Regions from separate parts of the Homo sapiens genome. Here all the other regions are linked to region 2. Evidence: promoter capture Hi-C in 16 types of primary human blood cells and fetal thymus (Javierre and others, 2016). All regions are on one chromosome and are shown on one strand. Each heading gives the region's core, a stretch centred on a gene start or on the middle of the fragment in contact. The rest is flanking DNA. Distances are from core to core; before and after follow the strand shown. Region 1 holds the start of LOC124902913 (a long non-coding RNA gene). Region 2 holds the start of DNM1L (dynamin 1 like). Region 3 holds the start of DENND5B-AS1 (DENND5B antisense RNA 1).

Region 1 (3,709 bases), core at 218-2,717, 1.0 Mb after region 2:
GGAGGTTGCAGTGAGCTGAGATCGTGCAACCACACTCCAGCCTGGACGACAGGGTGAGGCTCTGTCTCAGAAATAAAATAAAACAAAATAGTTGTGTCATTTTACATTTCCACCATCATTGTATGAGATCTCCAATTGCTCCACATCCTAGCCAACACTTGCTATTATTTGTCTTCTTTATTTTTTTTGAGACAGAGTTTCACTCTGTCACCCAGGATGGAGTGCAGTAGCGCTATCTCAGCTCACTGCAACCTCTGCCTCCCAGGTTCAAGTGATTCTCCCACCTCAGCCTCCCCAATAGCTGGGATTACAGGCACCCGCCACCACACCCAGCTAATTTTTTGTATTTTCAGTAGAGACAGGTTTCGCCATGTTGGCCAGGCTGGTCTCAAACTTCTGGCCTCAAGTGATCCACCCACTTCGGCCTCCCAAAGTGCTGGGATTACAGGCCTGAGCCACCGCACCCGGCCTCTCCCTAGACTTTTGAAGGAAGTTTGTAGTTTTGGGTTTTCTGGAGCTTCAGCTTCCTTCTAGCTTCTCTCTACCAAACTGCCCTTGCAACAAATCTATGGGCACCGTGTCTGTGTAAATTTGTGTGTTTCCTTTTTTCAATTCCCTATCTGCAGTTTGTACTTGTTGCTCCCTCAGTTAGTAACCGGGCAAACTTTTAAGCATAGGTCACTGAGTCACACCTAAACATCCGACAACTGACACTAGAATCCTCACTCCCTGCAAAACCCAGAAATCTTCAGCTAACTAAGACTGTGGTGCCATCTACTGATAATTTAGCTTAACATCGGCCAAGTGTGCTTCAGCTAAAACAGTAAAAGCAAAAACAAAACTGAAACTTAAACAGTTATGTATAAAGAGCAAAGATTCTCACCCACAATGTTACTACACACTGGTACCTTTTTTTTTTTTTTTTTTGAGACGGAGTCTCGCTGCATAGCCCAGGCTGGAGTGCAGTGGCACGATCTCAGCTCACTGCAACCTCTGCCTCCTGGGTTCAAGCGATTCTCCTGCCTCAGGCTCCTGAGTAGCTGGGACTACAGGCGCATGCCGCCAAGGCCGGCTGATTTTTTGTATTTTAGTACAGACGAGATTTCACCGTGTTGCCCAGGCTGGTTCCGAACTCCTGAGCTCAGGCAATCCGCCGGCCTCGGCCTCCCAAAGTGCTGGGATTACAGGCATGAGCCACCGCGACCGGCCTGGCACATTTCTTTAGTTGTAAGATATGATGGAAATACTTATCATTGGTCATAAATAGTTCAGGCTTAAAGCTTAAGAAAGATTTGGTATAATCTATAACACATTCTCTCTCAATCTTTCTCTCACACACACGTGCACACTCCACAACTAACCCACTAGCAAATCCAAAACACTGTCTATGCAGAATCTGACCACTTTTCACCACCTGCATTGCTTTCCTCTAATATAAATCACCATCATCTCTAGCCTGGATTATTGCTGATGGGAGGATAAATTCTCCTCTACTCCCTTGGGATCGTCTAAAGCTAAGTCTAAGAATTAAATGGACATAAACCAGATTAACAGAAAAGCATACAAGTGTTACTAATTTTTACTTGCACATGAAGACTCTCACAAGATGAAAGGGGCGACGACCTGAAGAAAATGGCCAGAACAGAAAGCTTTTATACCTTTTGGACAAAGAAATGATAAATTTATGAAGAAATGATAAGACAAAGGGATTTGGACTAGGGGCAGTAAATTGCGGGGGAATCACTAGGAGATATATGGTGATGAAGGGACCATACCACTGTCTGCGGTATAAACCCGGGGTTTGTCGTCAGGCGCCAGGAAAATTTAGGACACTGACACACACAAGGAGTGTAGGAGCAGAGGTTTAATAGGCAGAAGAGAAGGGAAAGAGAAACAGCTTTCTCTATAGAGAAATGGATCTGCGAGTGGAAAGGACCAGCCGGCAGTGGATGCGCCGAAGTTTATAGTCAGGTCTGAGGAGACGGTGTCTGATTTACATAGGGCTCATAGATTGGTTTGATCAGGTATGACGTTTACACTGTGCGCAGGGGAAGCCTGGTTACCCCACCCTAATCTTATTATGGAAATAGACTTTCTAGTTGATCAACACCATCTTGTCTGCTCCTTACAGTACACGTGGCTGACAAAGGGAAGGGAAGATGGAGCCTCCAATTTGAACATGTGTACTCCGAAGTTCCTCCCTGCGTTCACTCGTGCAAGCTCCCAGCTTGCTTGTCTGTGTCTGCAGCTCGGCTTTACAGAATGCTCTTTGTTAGAAAATGATTTGGGGCTGCTTTTCATGAAAAAGAAAAGCCTTACTGAGGATTCCCATACTCCTACTATCTGCCTAAGTGATTTCTTCTAAACTCCTGTATCAGTGAAGTGCAAAGCTAGTGAAAGGTAAGTGTTCGTTTAGTAAGTTTATCTGTATAGGTCCATTGTAGCATCAATTCCCAGTCTCTGGAGATAAGGGTTATTTTCTCTTTCTACTAAAGGAAGGCATCGGCCGGGCGCGGTGGCCCATGTCTGTAATCTCAGCACTTTGGGAGGCGGAGGCGGCTAGATCACACCTGAGGTCAGGAGTTCCAGACCAGCCTGGCCAACGTGGTAAAACCCCGTCTCTACTAAAAATACAAAAATTAGCCATGCGTGGTGGCACGCACCTGTAATCCCTGCTATTCGGGAGGCTGAGGCTAGAGAATTGCTTGAACCCGGGTTGCCTCACTGCAACCCGGGAGGTGGAGGTTGCAGTGAGCCGAGATTGCGCCACTGCACTCCAGCCTGGACGACAGAGCAAGACTCCGTCTCAAAAAAGAAAAAAAAAAAAAGGGAAGGCATCTTTCTCAAAGGAATTTTTATGGCTTCCTAAAGGTAGGAATGGACACGTCAGTGGGGAGGGCAAAGCAACTCCATCCTGGATGCTAATCCATGCTGGTTTCTGATTAACGCCAGTTCCAGGAAGTCTTGTAAGACTTCCAGTTTATCTATTGTTCCTTGTGTAAGAGCACGTACTGACTGTAAATCCTGCCCTTAGGTCAAGTGGCCTTGATGTTATCATACTTAAGTTGTTCTCCACGTCCCTTCTGAATCACTCCTCTCCTGGGGTATATAAGCCCTGGGTTTGAGGGGTAATGGTGCGGGGATCCACCATCTTGTCTCACTGCTTCCTGAGATACAGACATGGCTTCTGTTCTAAGTCCCTAGTAAACGTTTCTTCCTAAGAAACTGGATGTGTCAGCCTCTTTCTTCCACCTCTCAGCTTCCTTGGCCGCAGGTTTGCATAGACCCTGTCCACTGTGAAACAGTGAGCTAGCTCTTCCTGCAATGACAGTCTCTCAAGTACCTTCAGCTTGAAATAATCAGTATGCCAAACTGGCATATTTGGGGGTGGCACGTCCTTAACTCTTTCATTGCAAAGGTCTTTGAACTAACCTCCTTATCCCTCCTTGCTTCCTTTGGTCTCTTCTCAACAGAAAAGCCAGAGTGATTCTTTAAAAAAAAAAAAAAAGGTCAGGTCATTTCAATCTTCCACTCAAAACCCTCTTAGTGTTACTGGAAAGGGATCACGATTCAGATCCCAAGAGAGGGTTCTTGGATCTCACGCAAGAAAGAAATCAGGGCAAGTCCATAAAGTGAAAGCAAGTTTAAGAAAGTAAAGAAATAAAAGAATGGCTACTCCAAAGACAGAGCAGCCCCAAGGGTTGCTTGT
Region 2 (3,616 bases), core at 765-3,264:
ATAATTTCTATTCTGTATTTCTTCTGTACTTGAGTAAAAGACTGATTATCAGCTAATAAGAACTTAGATGGAAATAACCCTCATTAAATCAAGTAGAAAAACTGACCTCTTGAGAAATTTCAAACACCAACATGCAAATATAGCATATAACTGTCAGTACTAGGATGGTTTTTGCACATGTTAATGGCTTTCAGAAGGATGGGATCTTTACTTTTCTCTCCTGCCACTCTGTATTTTGCCAACAGGTTTACTGACCAAAATAAACTCTATTTTGTGTAAAAAGAAAAAAACAACTTATTGATTTTAAACTATTTATGCTGACACACTATATCCCTAATTCTTTTACTTCCTCATGCTTAAAAAGCACTGAGACTCTCTTTTAAAAGTATGTGGAAAGTTTCTAGTGTGCAGCTAGAAGACACTTCTGAATCACTTACTATCAAAGACTTAATTTATATTATCTCTAACTTTTTACAAAAACAGGTTAGTTTTGATGATAAAAGTCCCAGTGTTTTAAAACATTGTGGTTAGAGTGAGCAATATTTACTCAAAATATTTACAGAGCACTTACTATATGTCCCAGACTGAACAAAATTATGTTCAATAAAAAATAATCCTCGTAATTTGTTTGATGCTTCTGAGTCTCCAAACATTACAAATATTGTTACAAATACTAGAATACGTAGGCAAGATTGAGCAGAATCTTTCCCAATCCTATCGCAGACCAAGGAAATGTGTTTCTAAAACAATTTCTATTGCTTCAACTATTTAAAAGCCAAAAAAACAAACAAACAAACAAACGAGTACAGGGTGTCTATAGTTTCCAGTGTTTGGATAGCCACTAATACTTTGAACAGTAAGTTCCTTCTGATAGCACTTATACCCTATACTATGTACCTCCTGGAAAATGATGGGGAAACCGCTCCTTCTCAATAGAAAAGATACTATTAAGAAATGAAAGCACTTAATATCAATATACTAATTTCTAAAATCCGTTTCTCTGAACTCTAATCGAAGTAGCAGAGAAAAGGAAAATTATACTTCTCCTCTGTCACTCTAGAAATAACAGTTATTTTGCCAACATTTCTGCATTCAAAAAAAAATGAGTTAGCTATGAGAAGACCAGAGAAACTGATGCCCAATTTAGGTCACGATCACAAAACTGTGGAAGACAAAAAGCACAGCCTACGCAGAAAAATCGGATATTCCTTCCCAACACCCGCAGAACTCTAGATACACGTTTTGTTTTTCTTTTTTTAAAATGCTGCTTCGGCGTTCTCGAAACCTGGTGGAATTATACTGCAGGAAAACACTGGCGCTCACGCACCGTAGCGTCTCTCAGCCTCAACAGAGCGATTCCAAAACTAACTCCGCAGTCCCTGGGCAAGGCAAGGAGGGAAATAAAACACCCGTCTCACGAAAGCCAACAGTGATGGGAACAGCCAGCCCACCGAGCCCAGCGAGACCCGAGTGCCCCGCGCGTCCCCCAGGTGCCCTTGGAGGCAGCGGCACGCGGACGAGGCCGCGCCCGGTCCCAGCGGACTCCAGTTCCGCCCGCCGGCCCCATCCTTCCCTCTCCTGTCCCCGGGACCCGCCGGGCTAGCCAGGCCCGCCGCGCCGGCTCCGCCCCTGGCCGGGCCCCGGATTCTCCGCCTTGATGCAACGCTGCCCCGGGAGGGCGGGTGCGGCAGAGCCCGGAGAGCCCTGGGGCCCCCAGCAAGGCCCTCCTCCCACAGGCCCCAAAGGCTGGCGCGGGAGTGGGCGCTGGCGCGGGAGTGGGCACTGCCGCAGCACCGACCAGGCCTGCGGCCGGGGTCTGGCCCGAGCGAACGCCGCCTGCTGCTCTCACCTGCGTTCCCACTACGACGATTTGAGGCAGCTGGATGATGTCGGCGCCCACCGTGTTGAAGACGTCCTGGAGCTTGTTTATGACAGGAATTAGCGCCTCCATGACTCTGAAAACACGGGGCCCCAGTGCCCGCCGGCCACGGCAATGAATGGGGCCGGGGCCCACAGTTCGCCTCCTTCCTCCTCTCCTCCGCCCTCTCCTCGGAAGCCGGCACCCATTGGACCGGGCCCGCCGGCTACCTGCCCCCTCCCGGCAGGCCATGCGCTGCGAGGGAGGTGGAGAGGAGCAAGGCCTGCTGGGAGTTGTAGTTCTGGAGCGGAGGAACGCTACTCCCCACAGCTTCCAGGAGGCTGCGCGGCACCGGTGGGCCCTAGCCTGGGACTGGGATGCTGCGCAGGCTCTAGTCAAAGGCTAGGAGCAGGCCGGGAGCGCAGGAGGAAGGCCGTAAATTTATGCCTGTCCTCAAGGCACGATGGATGTGACAGTGCTGGGTGTGAATATGTGTTAAAGGCGCAATGGTGTGTCTCTTAATTATCCAGTGTCACTTCCTTTTATTTATTTTTTATTTATTTATTTTTTTTTTTTTTTTGAGACGGAGTCTCACTCTGTCGCCCAGGCTGGAGTGCAGTGGCGCGATCTCGGCCCACTGCAAATTCCGCCTCCCGGGTTCACGCCATTCTCCTGCCTCAGCCTTCGGAGTAGCTGGGACTACAGGCACCCACCACTACGCCCGGCTAATTTTTTGTATTTTTAGTAGAGACGGGGTTTCACTGTGTTTTCCAGGATGGTCTCGATCTCCGGACCTAGTGATCCACCCGCCTCGGCCTCCCAAAGTGTTGGGATTACAGGCGTGAGCAGTGTGACTTCCTTATGAAGACACTTTCTCTAGAAGGACGGGTTGGAAAGGCTTAAAGAAAAGCTTATGGCCGCAAACAACCAAACTGGGTGCAAAAAAATCTGCACGCTGATACGAGAATGTGTGGGGTGTTATTTTGCAAAAATACAAAAACCAGCCCAGGTTAGAATACGCGGGTTCTCCAGGGGTTTTGTAAACAAACAAACAAACAAACAAAATGTGTGTTCAGGACCGAGCGCGGTGTAATCCCAGCACTTTAGGAAGCAGAAGCAGGAGGATCGCTTGAGCTGGGAGTTCGAGACCAGCCTGGTCAACATAGTGAGACCTCATCTCTACCAAATAAATAAATAAATAAATAAAAAAGCAGGGGTCGGAGCAGCGGGGGGCGGTGTTCATGAAAAAAATCTTAGAGTATTGGAGTTTTACAGGGGAAGAGCTGGGCATTTATTATCAATATTATGTATAAACCTTTATTTGCTGTAGCCTGATTCCTGGCAAAGTAGACATCTGATAACTGCCTTACTCACTCTTTGCTCATACCGTTCTTTTTTTTTTTTGAGACAGAGTCTGACTCTGTCGCCCAGGCTGGAATGCAGTGGCGCAATCTCGGCTCACTGCAGCCTCCTCCTCCCAGGCTGAAGTGATTCTCCTGCCTCAGCCCCCCAAGTAGCTGTTATTACAGGCACCCGCCACCACCCTGGGAAAATTTTTGTATTTTTAGTAGAGACGGGTGGGGGGCGGGGTTTCACCATGTTAGCCAGGCTGGTCTCGAACTCCTGACCTCAAGTGATCCGCCCATCTTGGCCTCCCACAGTCCTGGGATTACAGGCCTGAGCCACCATGCCCGGCCCATACTGTTATATTTCTAAATGTTGTTTTTCTTTTTAGACAGATAGTATCCCTCCTCTACT
Region 3 (3,406 bases), core at 7-2,506, 1.1 Mb after region 2:
GCTCCCACAGCCCGAGCGCCGCTCAGCTGACCCGCGGGCGCCAGACGCGGCGGCTCTCAGCTCGCGAGCGCAGCTGCGGCTGCGAGGGCCTCTCAGGCCGACACTCCCCCCGCGCCCCTCCCCCACCCGGCCGGGCTCCGGACCCGCCGCGCGCGAGCCCGCGGCCGCTTCCCCCGCGCCGAGCGAGGAGGCAGGCTGCGGCGGCGAGAGGCGGCTGCGCGGCCATGGGCGCGCCAGTGTCGCCCTAGGGCGGGCGCACAGACCACAGCCGGAGCGGTGGTGGCAGCCTCCGCAGAAAGCCTTCCCGGGCGGCGGCGGCGGCGGCCCCTGGAGCAGCGCGGCCGGGATGAGCGGGAGCTGCGCGGCGCCCGGCCCGGGCTCGGGCTCCTCCCCGGCCGCCTGCCGCTTCGCGCACTACTTCGTGCTGTGCGGGATCGACGCGGACAGCGGGCTGGAGCCTGACGAGCTGGCGGGTAAGGCCAGGGCTGCGGCGGCGCTGAGCCCCCTCAGGGGCGCGGGGGACGCTGTGGGGACGCGCGGGAGGCGGGGTGCAGGCTCCAGACAAAGTCAGCTCCCGGTGGCGCCCTCCCGCCGCTTTCTGGCCGAACTGGCGCTCGGGCGCGATTTAATGACATTGTTATTTATTCCGCGTGCGGGCTTTGCGGCTGCGCCCACCGGGGCTTTCGCCTCCAGGCGCTGGGTTATTAATAACAGGCGCGGGGGTGGCCCCAAGGGCACGGACCCCGCCTGGCGCGCCGGCCCCTTCGCTTGCAGCCGCACTCGGAGGCGGCCGGTGAGTCACCGGGCGCGCGGGCTGCCCCCCGACCGCCGTGCCTGCCTCCCACCCGCCAGCCACCCGGCCCCGGCCGCGAAGTTTCGGCCCCGCACGTGACGCGGCTTTCGGGCCTCTTCGGGAGACGGGGAGTCGGACTCAGCTCGGCTCCCGCCGGGGTAGCGTCCGCGGAGGAGCCGGTGGCCGTGCGGAGCGAGCGCGGGGCGGGGACCGGTCGGACTCTGCCCTCTGCGCCGCCTGCCGCTCTGCGGTGCCGGCCAAGTCACCTTTTGGAATCCTGTGGATTTGGCCGCGTCTGGGAGCTGGCAGGGACCTTTGGACGCTCGGGACCCAGCACCGCGCTTTGTTGACACTGCCTACACTGTTCCCGAGTTTAAATTCAGTTGGGTGCACCGTGTGTTAGTGCCTGGTTTTCCCGGAGGGGTACCGGTCCTTCCGCTTGACTCATTTGATGGCGCAGTGCGGGGCTGTGCTGGGCAAACGACGCCGTTAAAAGGGGCCGCTAAAGGGCGATGGGCGGGGGCAGGGCAGCGGAGTGCGCAGTGTCGAGAGGAGGCCGGGGAGAAACAACTGATTTCATTTTTCACGCCTGTTCCTTTCTGCTTGCCTCCGCGGGATCTGAATCTTGATTTGTTGTTGTTGTTAAATGGGTGAGAGAAGTGACATCTACCGCCTGAACTTTGTGTTAAAGACTTAGGTCATAGCCTTTCAGAACAACTTCCTTTGGACAAATAATTCCTTATTGATTGCACTAACGTAAATTTTTCGCTTTTCCTTTGGTGGGGGTGGGGAGACTGGGAAGAATATATTAAATAATAAACAATAGTAAACAAAACTGTTCAGCCTTAAAATACAGTCCCCATCAACCCACGTCTTGGCTATCTTCTTCTTAACTCAGCTTCAGAGCAAAACATTTTCTTTTTTTCATATTCTTCGGAGGTAGAAACACAAAACATTTTCAACAAAAACTGTAAGTCTAGTTTTAGTTAAAAAAAAATTTGGAGAGATAATAGAATACCAAGTTTTTCCGTATGTGTAATTATGTAATCACATTGTTTCTTCAACTAAGATTTCATGTACATGTTAAGAATGGCTTTGTTAAAGGATATGAAGAAAAAATGTCTGCAGAGAGATTTGGAGAGATTCTTCTCGAGATTGGTGAAGGAATATTGTTATTTTTCTAGACTCCTTTCTTCCCTAAAGATCCTAAACATTTGTGGCACCAGGGTCACTTGGAGGCCTTCTGTCAGTGATGACTAATGAAAGGAAAAAAGCCTGTATTTTTCTTTTCCGTTTGCCTACTGAAGCTAAAACTGTACCTTTTAGGTGTGACCTAGGACTCTTTAGGCACAGAGAGAATGATGTTAACAAAACCATCAATTAGACTTTAATGCATTTTTAAGAAACAAACTATGATGTCTCTTTTTGCAAAACTGTGTGAGTGTGGGTGATTGGGATTTCTGCTTCTCATAATATTTAATGTATTCAGGTAATAATGTATTTTGCCTTGTAATATTTCAGTATCATTCATCCAACAGTTTTGAAAGCATCTATCTGTAGTCGGTTTTTTAGGCACTGGGGACAGCTGTGAAGAAAGCAGTCAGAAATCCCTGCCATCATGGAGCATACGTTCTAGTGTAAAGAGATAATGAAAATACAATCATCTCTCCGTAACCATGGGGGATGGATTCTAGAGTGTCCCCCACACCAAAATCCTCGGATGCTGAAGTCTCTTATAATAAAATGTTGTAGCATTTGTATATAACCTATGAACATTTTCCTGTACACTTTGTCATCTCTAGATTACTTACAATACCTGTTACGTTGTAATGTTATGTAAATAGTTGTTATACTGTATTGTTTAGGGAATAATGACAAGAAAAGAAGTCTGTACATGTTCAGTACAGATGCAACCATTGTAGGCCTAACTACATTTTCAATCTGTGCTTGGTTGAATCTGTGGATGCGGAGTCCACGTGAAGTGCCGACTGTATATAGTTCTCCAGATGTTAATAAGTGCTATGAGGAAAAATAAAGCAGGGGAGTGGATTTAGGGACATGCCAGCAGAGTGGTGGGATGGTGGGGTTGTGATTTTAAATAAGATGGTTAGGGAAGGCCTCACAGGGAGGGTGACATTTGAACAGAGCCTTGAAGGACATGAGGAAGCAGGCCAGATGGATCACCTGGGGGCACAGCATTGCACGCAGAAGAAACAGCAAGTGCGAAGACCCTGAGTGGGACAGTCACTAGTTTGTGCTGGTAACAGCAAGGAGTCCAGTATGGCTGGAGCTGAGGGAGAGGGAGAGTAGTAGGTAAGATCAAAGAGAAAGGGCAGGGGAGATTGTATAGGGCCTCATGCAGTTTTTAGGCTTTTAACTCTGAGATGGGAAAGTATTGGAAGGTTTTGAGCAGAGTAATGACAAGATCTGATGTGCCTTCTAAAATGACTGTTGTGGCTGCCATGTTGGGTAGACTATATCAGGGCAGGGGTAGAGGCAAGAGACCAGTTAGGGAGCTCTTTCAGTATTTGAGGTGAGAGGCTGGATGCTGTGGCTCACGCCTATAATCCTAGCACTTTGGAAGGCCGAGGCAGGTGGATCACTTGAGGTCAG

Evidence for each region. The method cuts DNA at HindIII sites, captures the fragments that hold promoters and counts their contacts. A CHiCAGO score of 5 or more calls a contact.
Region 1: a contact is called between a fragment that was not itself captured here and the fragment with the promoter of DNM1L in region 2, in 2 of 17 cell types (total CD8 T cells and fetal thymus). The highest score is 8.3, in total CD8 T cells.
Region 3: a contact is called between the fragment with the promoter of DENND5B-AS1 here and the fragment with the promoter of DNM1L in region 2, in 1 of 17 cell types (erythroblasts). The highest score is 7.6, in erythroblasts.

Annotation. Positions count from the first base shown.
Region 1 is chr12:31,650,427-31,654,135 of GRCh38, reverse strand. LOC124902913 (a long non-coding RNA gene) reads left to right here and starts at 2,078. Exons shown (of 2, transcript XR_007063269.1): 1 at 2,078-2,400. It also overlaps a transcript of ETFBKMT not described here. RefSeq lists an enhancer at 689-898 and a silencer at 1,029-1,088. The HindIII fragment of the contact is 369 bases long and covers 1,283-1,651 here.
Region 2 is chr12:32,677,699-32,681,314 of GRCh38, reverse strand. It overlaps DNM1L (dynamin 1 like), which reads right to left and starts at 2,014. Exons shown (of 20, transcript NM_012062.5): 1 at 1,850-2,014. The coding sequence starts at 1,951. RefSeq lists a silencer at 1,457-1,866. The HindIII fragment of the contact is 13,395 bases long and covers 1-2,770 here.
Region 3 is chr12:31,587,773-31,591,178 of GRCh38, reverse strand. It overlaps DENND5B-AS1 (DENND5B antisense RNA 1), which reads right to left and starts at 1,256. Exons shown (of 3, transcript NR_046909.1): 1 at 1,060-1,256. DENND5B (DENN domain containing 5B) reads left to right here and starts at 43. Exons shown (of 21, transcript NM_144973.4): 1 at 43-473. The coding sequence starts at 347. RefSeq lists silencers at 1-182, 253-522, 673-1,012 and an enhancer at 1,443-1,522. The HindIII fragment of the contact is 7,998 bases long and covers 1-3,406 here.